Linked DNA regions of Homo sapiens: region 2 is linked to region 1. The links are contacts of gene promoters, found by promoter capture Hi-C in blood cells and fetal thymus (Javierre and others, 2016). All regions are on one chromosome and are shown on one strand. The core of a region is centred on a gene start or on the middle of the fragment in contact, and the rest is flanking DNA. Distances in the headings are between cores, read along the strand shown.

The links. Contacts are between HindIII fragments. The CHiCAGO score rates a contact against its expected background, and 5 or more counts as called.
Region 2: a fragment that was not itself captured here is called in contact with the fragment with the promoter of MYL3 in region 1 in 1 of 17 cell types (total B cells); the score reaches 5.2 in total B cells.

The regions. Positions count from the first base shown.
Region 1 is chr3:46,860,158-46,865,501 of GRCh38, forward strand. MYL3 (myosin light chain 3) reads right to left here and starts at 3,287. Exons shown (of 7, transcript NM_000258.3): 1 at 3,105-3,287; 2 at 803-830; 3 at 519-668. The coding sequence starts at 3,233. RefSeq lists an enhancer at 139-639. The HindIII fragment of the contact is 15,359 bases long and covers 2,987-5,344 here.
Region 2 is chr3:47,372,044-47,377,673 of GRCh38, forward strand. No RefSeq gene overlaps it. Among named protein-coding and RNA genes, the nearest start is that of PTPN23, 6.2 kb to the right of the region's middle. The HindIII fragment of the contact is 9,184 bases long and covers 1-5,630 here.

The DNA of each region.
Region 1 (5,344 bases), core at 2,037-4,536:
TTGTTACGTCACACAGACTGGAGTACAGTGGTGTGATTATAGCTCACTGCAACCTCAAATTCCTGGGCTCACGGGATCCTCCTGGCTCAGCTTCCTGAGTAGCTGGGACCATAGGTGCATGTCACCATGCCAAGCTAAATTTTTAATTTTTGTAGAGATAGAATCTCACTATGTTACCCAGGCTGGTCTCACTCCTGGCCTCAAGTGATCCTCCCAAAGCATTGGGATGACAGCATCCCACTGCCCACTGCTGTCACTGCCCGACCTTCTCACTTCTCCATAGGTGTCAGCGCCTACCACCAGGGGGCCTGGCAAATCAGCATGGATCCAGATGCTCCAGCAAACCATTACTGCATGTCACCTGGTCGGCATGGCCCTGTGACTGGCCTCGGTGCCCTCATCGGGACAATGCGAGATGTCAGGAAAGATTCTCGTGCTATCCCGCAGGATGGATGGCAGCCCACCCAGCCAGTCTCCCCGGTACTAACACTATGGGGGCTCTCGGGCAGGTGCACTACCTTCCTGTCTTGGCTTCCCCAGGACACGGAGCACTTCTGCCTGTGTGGGGTTCTGGCCCAGCGCCCGCAGGACATCCCCACACTGCCCGTAGGTGATCTTCATCTCACACTTGGGTGTGCGGTCGAACAGCATGAAGGCTTCCTTGAACTCTGCCAGGAGAGGGCAGTGAGCCACAGACACTCCCAGGGTCAGCCTACCCCACTCCCCACACCCCTGGCAGGACCCTCAGACCAGGGAACCCCAGCCCAATCCTGCAACCCCTGGGTTCAAGACCCCTGCTCACCTTCAATCTGCTCAGGTGTGAACTCAATCTGAAAAGAGACCCCAAAGACTCAGATGCCCGGCTTAAAAGGTGGGGCCACACCTCCTCCTGGGCACTCGGTGGCCAGCCCAGAATGTCAACTGTCTCAGCCTGTCCCATTCCAGCATCCCAGCCTGCACCCCCAGGACCTCCTGCAGTCCATCTTGACGCCCTCCTGCCTCCTTGCCCCCCTCCACCTCTCCAGCCAGAAGGCCTTGAGGCTGTGTGCACCGAGGCCCTGATGCTCGGTGGACCCTGGCAGGGGTAGCAGTGAGGAGGGAGGCCACATGCCCAAGGCCTCAGGCCAGCGTGGGCCTTACCTGATGCTCCCGGTTCTGGACAGATGTACCTTAAGCCACAAGCCCCAGTCAGGCTGGCTTTGCTTGGGGCCTGGTGGGCAGGACTGTCAGCAAAAGTGAGATGGGAGGGCCCAGGGTGGTAGAAGGAGTAAGGGCAATGGTACAGGCCGAGGGCTGGTGGCTGGAAGCATCGAGGGTGAGCACAAGTGTGCATGTTTGTGTGTGAGCATGTGTCTACATACGTCTGCCCTCACAGAGCCCCCTAAGCCCTAAAGACCAGGCAGTCACTCACCAGCCCCACTATACCTATTTCTCACACACCCTGTCCGTAGGTCCCTGGGAAGCTCCCACACCCCAGGACAGCACAGGGCCAGGGCAGTGCTGCTGAGTGTTTGCTGAAGTCACATTGGGGCCACCTTGATTGACGTCAATCAAGAGGCCTCCCGGGATCCAGTGTCCCCCTCCTCACCGGATACCAGGTCTATTTTTATCACTGCAGTCACTCGCCCCAAGGTCAAGGTCACACAAGGGAAAGGAGGTTGGGGGAGGGGCATGACTGGCGTCTCTCTCATGGCTGCTGCCACGGAGCCCCACCAATCTCCACAGTGCATGCCGGCACAGAGGGACACCCTGTTCAGGGCCACCCTACCATGACTGTCCCTCCTGGCTTCTGGCTTGACCCAGTGTTGGGAAGAACAGGTTGTCATTCCTGGCTCCCTGAGAGCTCTCTCCACCAGGAAGCCTACTGAGATTAGGGTCTCTGGGCTCCTGGCAAAGGCTCCCTGCCCTTTACCTGCAACCTGGGGATGGGGGAAGAGGGCGCATGAGGGGTCTCATTGTCCCCACCTCTCAGAAGGAAGTCTGTGCCAACCTAAGGCCTGGCGAGAAAGGACAATGCCACTATGGGCCGTGGCTGTGGTCACAGCCTCACCATGAGGCCTGCAGAATGCAAGCCTGGGACCTGGGTGGCCAACTCCAGGTGCATATACTCTGAATGGTTCCCAGCAGCCCTGCAAGAGGGGACTTGCTGTTCTGTTTCACAGCTGAGGAAACCACGCCTCAGAGCAGCGAAGAACTTGGCAACTAAAATGGAGCAGAGTTGGGATTTGAACCCTTGCCTCAAAGGACATGGTAGGTGTCTCTGGGAAGGGCTCATGAACAGGAGGCAAGACTTCACCGATGGAATGTAGGTCCTGCTGGGCATGCAGGGATGGCGAGGGTTCCACAGGGCTCCTGAGGAGGCAGCCAGGGCAGCAGTGGTCCCAGCCAAGAACAGGGAGCAGGCAGGACACAGGGTACGTGCTGCTATGCAGATACCACAGGTGGGAGTCATGGCTCCCTCCAAGTTTAGACTCTGAGAAAGACTTTGCAGTTGGGGAAGGGCTCCTGGGGCCACTGGTCATAGCTCCATGACCAGCTTCCTGCACAGCTTTCAGAATGTCCCCAGCCAGCTGATGCTTCAAGTTCCCTACCTAAAAGCTGAGGCCTGGAAGTGCTCTACCAGCTCTGGGCTCGGTGATTTGAACGAGACCCAGCCTGGACAGGGGCCCTGCTTCTTCTTACTCCCTATCTCATCCACGCTGGGAGCGTGTATGGACTTGGGACCCCTCAGCTGAACAAGGAAAATCCCTGCCTGGCTCCAGCTGACTCCAGGATTCCCCAAGGATGAGAAGTCCAGGAAGAAGGGCAAGGGAGAGTCCATTTCCAAAACCACTAAAAAGACAGTCCAGACTCAAACCCCAGTCTAGACTCCACCTTAGTTCTCAGCAGCACCAGAGGAGTCCTGCAGAACGTCTGACCACCATCCCTCCTGCTGCAGCCCTTCTGATGCCTGAAGCAGTCAGGGCTTGTCTGACCTCTGCACAGAAGCTTCCAGCGTCAGCTCAGTGCTCACCTCCAGAGCCTGACCTGCCTCTTGCTAGGTCCACTCTGGGATCCACTCACTTGCCCTGCTCCTATTGCCACCACCCAGCTTCCATACCCACCTTGATCTTGGAAGCATCAAACTCGACCTCCTTAGGGCGCTCAGGCTCAGGGGGAGGTGCGGGAGCTGGAGCTGCCTTGGGGGCTGCCTTGGCATCATCCTTCTTGGGCTCTGGCTTTTTGGGGGCCATTGGGGGCTGTAAGTACAGAGAGGGATGTGGAGAGAAGAATGCAGAAAGCAGGGTAGGTGAGCCGCCTCACCCAGGCCTTTATCCTGCCCGGATACCTCATGACCCCAGCCCCACCCCTGCAGTGCACAATAGGGACAGGGCCATAAAAGGATATGGCTAGGCTTAGGGGCTATTTTGGGGCCTGGGGAGGGCATTGTTCAGGCTCAGGAATGGGTAGTGGAGGAGGGATCTCCATTCCTCCCAATCACCTGTTGGGAAGGGGGAGGGAGAGAGGGGGACAAAGGCCACTGCTTAACACACACATACACACATACACACACACTCATCTGCACACCCGCACATACCCACACAGGGCCCTGCTGCCTCTCTGCAGGTCCGTAAGTTGAAGAGGTGAAGAAGGGTGGACCAAGTACATGCTACGTGTTGTGTTGGGGCCAGAAGGACTGGGATGATCTAAGGGCACCTCTGAACTTAAGCTCTCCAAAGTCCCCTGTGTCTGTGTCTGTGTCTATGACCGTGTCCATGTGGGGGAAGGCGGAAGTCAGCATGTGTCTGTGTGTGTTGTCTGTGTCTGTGTCGGGGTGTCTATGTGTCTGTGGGTCTCTCTGTGTCTGTGTTTGTGTGGAGGGGGGTCTGTGTACACCTGTGTGTATTGTCTGGGTGCCTCCGTGGTGGGGGGCTCTGTGCGTGCCTATGTGTGCTCCGTATCTGTGTCTATGTAAGGGATGGCCCGGGTGTCTGCATTTGTCTCTGTGGGTCTGGGTCTTTATGTGTGCGTGGTGTGTCTATGTGTCTATGTGAGTGTGTCTGCGGGTGTTGCTTCTGTGTGTTTATGTCTGGGTGTTTACATGTGTCTGTATGTGAGTGTCTGGTCATGGCAGGCAGCTGTAGCCCTGGCTATGGGTCCAAGGGTCTCCAGGAACCCCCACAAAGGGCAAGAGAAAGGATGCTGCTCCCTCTAGGGCAGTCGCCCCAGGCCAGTTCAGCAGCCTCCCTCTTCAGCCCCTGCTGGCCCAGGGACCAGTTTCTCAGCTTTCACCCCTAGATTCCTACTTCCCCTCTCTACAGGCCCCAGGGATGCACATTTCCCTACACACCCCAGGCCTGGCTCCCCACTGCACCCTCTGCCCAGAGTGCCCTCGCCCCCTCTGCCTGACATATTCAAGGCTTGGCTCTACTGGCCCTCTTCCAGAAAGCTCTCTCCAATGCTATTCCACTGCCACATGTTGCCCTCTGCCGACCCTTTTGGCAGGGGCTCTGAGAGGGTCTGCCTCTCTGAGGAACCCCAAGCTGCCAAGCAGGGTCTGCCCCAGTGCAGTGATGCTCATTCCCTGTTCCTACCACTCAGTGCCCACCCCCAGTGCCCATCCTGCAGTGCCCGGCCCCCAGGGTCCATCCCAAGCCCAGCCTTCAGCAGATGACAGTGACAGAGTACAGCCTGACGGGACTGCCACTTGGGGAGGTGGGAGGGCTGAGGTGGCACAAGGCTCTTCCCGCATGGGGACGCCAACAGTGGGGACATCTTGTAAACACATTGGGCTCTGTTCCTTGCCCAGCATCTGTGCCTGGGGGGTGGGAAGGAGGTGCTCCTGGTTACTTTTAAGTGCCTGGAGCCTTTGATAGAAACTTCAAAGCCAGGGATTTCCCTGGTGTGGCAAGGGGCTAAGCCTGAGGCTGAGAGGTGCTGTGGGGCCCAGGGCCTCTACCTGGCACGCCCTGCTGTCTTCCTACTGGGCCCAGTCCCTCTCATCCTGTCACTCCGCCTCACAGGGAGGGACAGCAGTCCAGGGCTGGGGCCAGCCCGCTCCTGACTGGAACACGTTCTGCCTCTCATCTGGAGGGCAGAACACCCACATCTGGAAATCTGACAACATCCGGGACTGGCGGGGGGGCAAGTTTTTCACTTTTCTTCCAAATGTTTGGCAACAGTATTGAGAAAGAAAGGGGTGGGGGGATGGTCAGTGGAGACGAGCCAGAAATACCACAAGAGGAGAAGACAGCCAGAGGGCCACACAGAGGGGCCCCGGGGAGGCCCCACCACCCAGGCCTGCCGACCCTCAGGACAACGGGCTCTGGAAGTCACACGGGAGCCCCAGCCACCCACAGACACC
Region 2 (5,630 bases), core at 1,921-4,420, 510 kb after region 1:
TTCAACGGTATACAGGCACCCAGCAGGTCACAGGGGCTGATAGTGTCAACTTGGCTAAATAAGGCCAGTTTTCCAAAATGGTGGCACCAATTCACAGCCCTATCTACAGCCCCATCTCACCAACACTTATTATTGACAGATGTATACTCATCATTCTGATGACTATCAAGTGGCATTTCAGTGTAGTTGGGGTTTGCATTTTCCTGGTTACTGATGAGGTTGGACATCTTTCCATGTGGTTTTGGCTGTTCCTGTAAGTTCCCATCCAAGTTGTGTGCCCATTTGTCCATTGGATTGTTTGTCTCTCTTGAGAACTCATCAGACTTTTTTACATATCCTTAATGGTAATCCTTTTTTGATTATGTCTCACAAATATCTTCTCCCAATTTGGTCTTGTCTGTTCATTTTCTTTATGATGTCCTGTTTTTCTTTTTAACTTTTTATTTTGACATAATCTCAGACTTACATCGAAAAGTTGCATGAATAGTGCAAAGAATTTCTTCATACCCTTTACCCCAGTTCCCCAAATGTTAACATTTGACATTTGTGTCCCTCTCTCTTTCTTTCAGTGCCCCCATATATACACACATATCTCCCCTCCCCTTCCCTGAGCCCCAAGTCACTTGGGAGTAAGGGGCAGAATACTGCCTTTTTACTCCTAAATACTTCAGTGTATATTTCATTTTTGTTTTTAGATGGAGTTTCACTCTTGTTGCCCAAGAATGCAGTGGTGCAATGTCTACTCACTGCAATCTCCTGGGTTCAAGTGATTATCCTGCCTCAGCCTCCTGAGTAGCCGGGATTACAGGCACACACCACCACACCTGACTAATTTTTGTATTTTTAGAAGAGATGGGGTTTCACCATGTTGGCCAGGCTGGTCTCGAACTCCTGACCTCAAGTGATCTGCCTGCCTTGGCCTCCCAAAGTGCTGGGATTACAGATGTGAGCCACTGCACCTGGCCTGGTGTATATTTCTTAAAAACAAGAACATTATCCTATATGTAAACATTACCACAGAACAACTGTCAAATTCAGGAAATTAACACTGAAACACTACCATTATCTAATCTACAGACTTTATTCAGATTTCATCACTCATACTAGTAATGTCCCTTGGAGCCGAGGTGAGTGGTGGGTGGCAAGCATTACCACCTGAGCTCCACCTCCTGTCAGATCAGCTGCATTAGATTCTCATAGGAGTGCAAATCCTGCTGTGAACTGCACAGGTGAGGGATCTAGGTTGTGTGCTCCTTATGAGAGATGATCTGAGGTGGAACAGCTTCATCCTGAAACCATCCCCTGCCCCTCATCCACGGAAAAATCGTCTTCCATGAAAGCGGTCCCTGGTCCCAAAAAGTTTGGGGACCGCTTCCTCAGAACAAAAAGAACATCCCATATCATGTGTTACACTTCTTTAGTATGCTAAAGAGGTTATGTCTATGTTTCTTTATACTTTAATCTAGAATAGTATTTCTTTGTGTTTCATAAGACTGACTTTTTGGAGATGATAGACCAGTTCTTTTATAGGATGTCCTTCAATTTGGGATTATCTAATGTTTCTTCGTGATTAGATTAAGGTAATGCGTTTTGGGTACTGTGTCCTCAGAGCATCATACCAGAAGGCACATGATCTAGATTTCTCTCATTGCTGGTGACATTAAACTTCATCACGTGAGTAAGATGAGGTCTACTAAGTTTCTCCATATAAAGCTACTGTTTTTCCCTTTGTGATTATTAAGTATCTAGGGGAGATACCATGGACTGTGTAATTACCCTATTAGTTTATTTCTCAAGTCTACTGGTTTTTATGTCCATTGATGATTTTTGTCGAATTATTAATATGGCTGCCAAATAGTGATTTTCTAATTTTATCCTTCCTCATACCTCATACATCTATTAGTTGGCTTTTGGTTGTTTGTTTGTTTTGTGACGGAGTCTCTCTTGTAGCCTAGGCTGGAGTGCAGTGGCACAATCTCAGCTCAGTGCAACCTCTGTCTCCCGTGTTCAAGTGATTCTCCTGCCTCAGCCTCCCAAGTAGCTGGGATTACAGGCGCCTGCGACCATGCCCGGCTAGTTTTTGTATTTTTAGTAGAGACGGGGTTTCACCATCTTGGCCAGGCTGGTCTTGAACTCCTGACCTTGTGATCCACCCACCTTGGCCTCCCAAAGTGCTGGGATTACAGGCGTGAGCCCCACTGTGCTTGGCCTGATTAGAACCTACTTAATCCAGTATGACCTCACCTTAATTTGATTATATCTACAAAGACCTTATTTCCAAATAAGGCCATATTCACAGATACTGGTGGGGGATGCCAAGGCTTCAATATATCTTTTAAGGGGAACAATTCAACCTGTAACAGACTCCAATTTGTTTTTTTGTTTTTTGTTTTTTTCATATGGATGACCAGTTAGCCTGCATCATTTATTCAGTAGCCATCCTTCCTCACTGGCCTGCAATACTACCTCTGAGTCCATTAAGTAGATGTGGATGCCTTGGGTCTATTTCTGGGTTTTCTGTTCAGTTCTGAGGGTCTAATGTTGCATTCCTGAACAAACACCCACACTGTCCCAATTACTCAGCTTTCTAGCAGGCCTAGATATCTGGTAAAACAAGTCTGCTCATTTTGTTTCTCTTCAAGACTGTCTAGTGGCTGGGCACAGTAGCTCATGTCTATAATCCCAGTACTTTGGGAAGCTAAGGCAGGAGGATTACTGAAGGCCAGAGTTTGAGAACAGCCTGGGCAACATAGCAAGACCCTTCTCCATAAAAAATTTAAAAATTAGCCAGGCATGGTGGCACACACCTGTAGTCCTAGCTACTTAGGAGGCTGAGACCAGTGGAGTACTTCAGCCTAGGAGTTTCAGGCTGCAGTGAGCTAGGATCATGCCACTGCACTCCAGCCTGGGCAACAGACCAAGACCTTGTCTCTCAAAAAAATAAAAAAAAAAAGAGAGATAGATTGTCTAGGCTCTTCTGCGGTCTTTGCTTTTCCATATAAATTTGAAAAACAGTATGCCAACTTTCTCACAAAAAAACTTGGGAGTTTGGCAGGAATTGCACTGAGCCTATGGATCACATCTCCTCTTCCAGGTTCCAGGAAACCTTCCCTCCTCACTAGCCCCATTAGGCTCTCTGTCCCCTCTGGTTTCACACTATCCCCACCCCATTCTGTGGGGGTGATCTGGCCCCCTTGACTGGCCTGAATACCGCAAACCACAAGGGTATGTTCCTTTCAAAAGTCTCCTTCATGTCTCTTGCGTGTGTCCAGACCAAGATCTGACTATGACGACCCTGAAAGCTAGATCTGAGTGACACAGTCCTCCTGTCTCCACTCTCCCCTCTACAGAGCCCAGAGTGTTGTCTTAGGAATCCTTGGTAGGGCTCTTCCTCTAATCCCCTACTCAGTCTATGTAACCCTTAAACAAACTTAGGCCAGATCATATCCCTAGGTCTATTCAAACCCTCCCCATGGTTCCCCAGCTTGTCCAAAGAAAACCCACGTCCTCATCATGGTCTTCGAGACCCAACTCCATCTGCAACCACCCCACTCCATCTGCAACCCCTCACCTCACCCCTCCTCATTGCCTCTGTGACTCCATCTCCTCTATTCTACACACTCACTCGACCGCAGACACTCTGGCCTCCCTGCTGTTCTTCAGGTATGCCAGACACAGTCCTGGTTCAAGAACTTTGCATTTGCTGTTCCCCCTTTCTGAAACATACTTCCCCTAGTTATGCCCTGTCTTGCTCCTTCACTTCGTTCAGATCTCCGCTCAAATAGTATCTTCTCAGTGAAGCCTCCCCTGACCACCCAATATAAAATTGCATTGTCCCCTACCTATACTCCCACCTTCCTCTCCGTTTGATTTTCTTCCAACCACAACAGTTGTTGCCATCTAACATACTGTCTATTCTTTATTGTGTTAATGTCTATGTCCCTCCCTAAAATGGGACCTCATGTGGGCAGAGCTCTTTACCTGTTTTGATCAACAGCACCTAGAACAAATGTCTAGGACACTGTGGGTGTTGAATAAATATTTGTTGAATAAAAGAACTGAGAGAGATGAGACTCATGCCCAGCCCAGACTCTTTTTTTTTTTTTTTTTTTTTTTTTTTTGAGACAGAGTCTCGCTCTGTCCCCAGTCTGGAGTGCAGTGGCATGATCTCAGCTCACTGCAACCTCTGCCTCCCGGGTACAAGCGATTCCCCTGCCTCAGCCTCCCAAGTAGCTGGGATTACAGGTGCCCGCCACCATGCCTGGCTAATGTTTGTATTTTTTAGTAGAGATGGAGTTTCACCATGTTGGCAAAGCTGATCTTGAACTCCTGACCTCAGGTGATCTGTTTGCCTCTGCCTCTGCCTCCCAAAGTGCAGCCCAGACTCATGTATATTCACTTGTTGAGACTTTGGGTGGTCCCCTCCCCAGTCCAGGCCTGGGTTTCTACATTGGTAAAATGGGGAAGGGTGTGTGTGTTTTTAAGGGCCCATCCAACTCTGCTGGGTGTGATGGGGAGGCTGTCTTGAGAAAAGGGTGTGCTGCCCCCTCGTGATGAGGCAGACTCTTCCCCAGGACCATCAAGTCTTAGGCTTCTAACTCCCAACCCTGCCTGGAAATACATGTTAGGAGGGCACTCCCTGCCCCGGAGTCACCCTTTCTGCTGTCTCACCTCCACCAACCCATCCCCGCCCTCAGCATTCAAGGCCTGTGAAGGTCCTCTTGGTCTTTGATGCCTTTCACACCAATTGCCCTTCATGTCACTGTGACCCTGTGTTATGGGCTAAATGTGCCCCCTCCATTACTCCTCATTTCATGTTTGAAGTCCTAACCTCCAGTACCTCAGAATGTGACTGAGTTTAAAGGCAGGGTCACCAGGCCCAGGGATAAGATGGCCATTAACAAGCCAAAGAGAGAGGCCTCAGAAGAAACCAACTCTACTAATACCTTATCTCAGACCTCTAGCCTCCAGAACTGTGAGGAAATACATTTCTGCTTAACCTACTCAGTATGTGGTACTTTCCTATGGCCACTCTAGCAAATGAATACACCCTGGAACTCACAGAATACTTTATTTCTTTTGTTGTAGTTCAACTCCAGAAGCACCATGTGGGGACAAGGTGTTCCCATTCCACCTCGGGAGTAGAGGCCAGGGGAAGGAAAGGCAGTAGGGCCAAAGCTATCACTGTAGGAAGCTCATGAGATAGGGACCCATCTGCCCAGCTCTCCTGAATCCTGGAGCCTCGCCAGAGCTCCCTCTTGCATCTGCAATTCCACCTGCCTGGAATGCCCATCTCTATAGGTCTTCTCTGTCTTGCAAGGCCCAATTTAGGGCTTCCTACTTCTCCCCTTCCTCTCTCACTTCCTGTTCCAGCCCATACTGAACTGCAACAGCTTAATCCTGACCCCTTGCTGGCCTCAAGTTTGGGTCCTGGGCTGTCTGTGTCCTGTGGCCAAGCAGCCGCCTGCTTCTTTGCTCAGTAATGCTATGATGTAGTCTCCCAATTCCCAGCCTGCTCTGGACTCAGCTGTTGTGCCTAGGTCTTGCAGCTCCCTCATGGCTGACCACTGCCTCACCATCAGAAAGCCCCAAGGTAGGCTGCTTTATGCTTTTGTATTTTACTTACTACA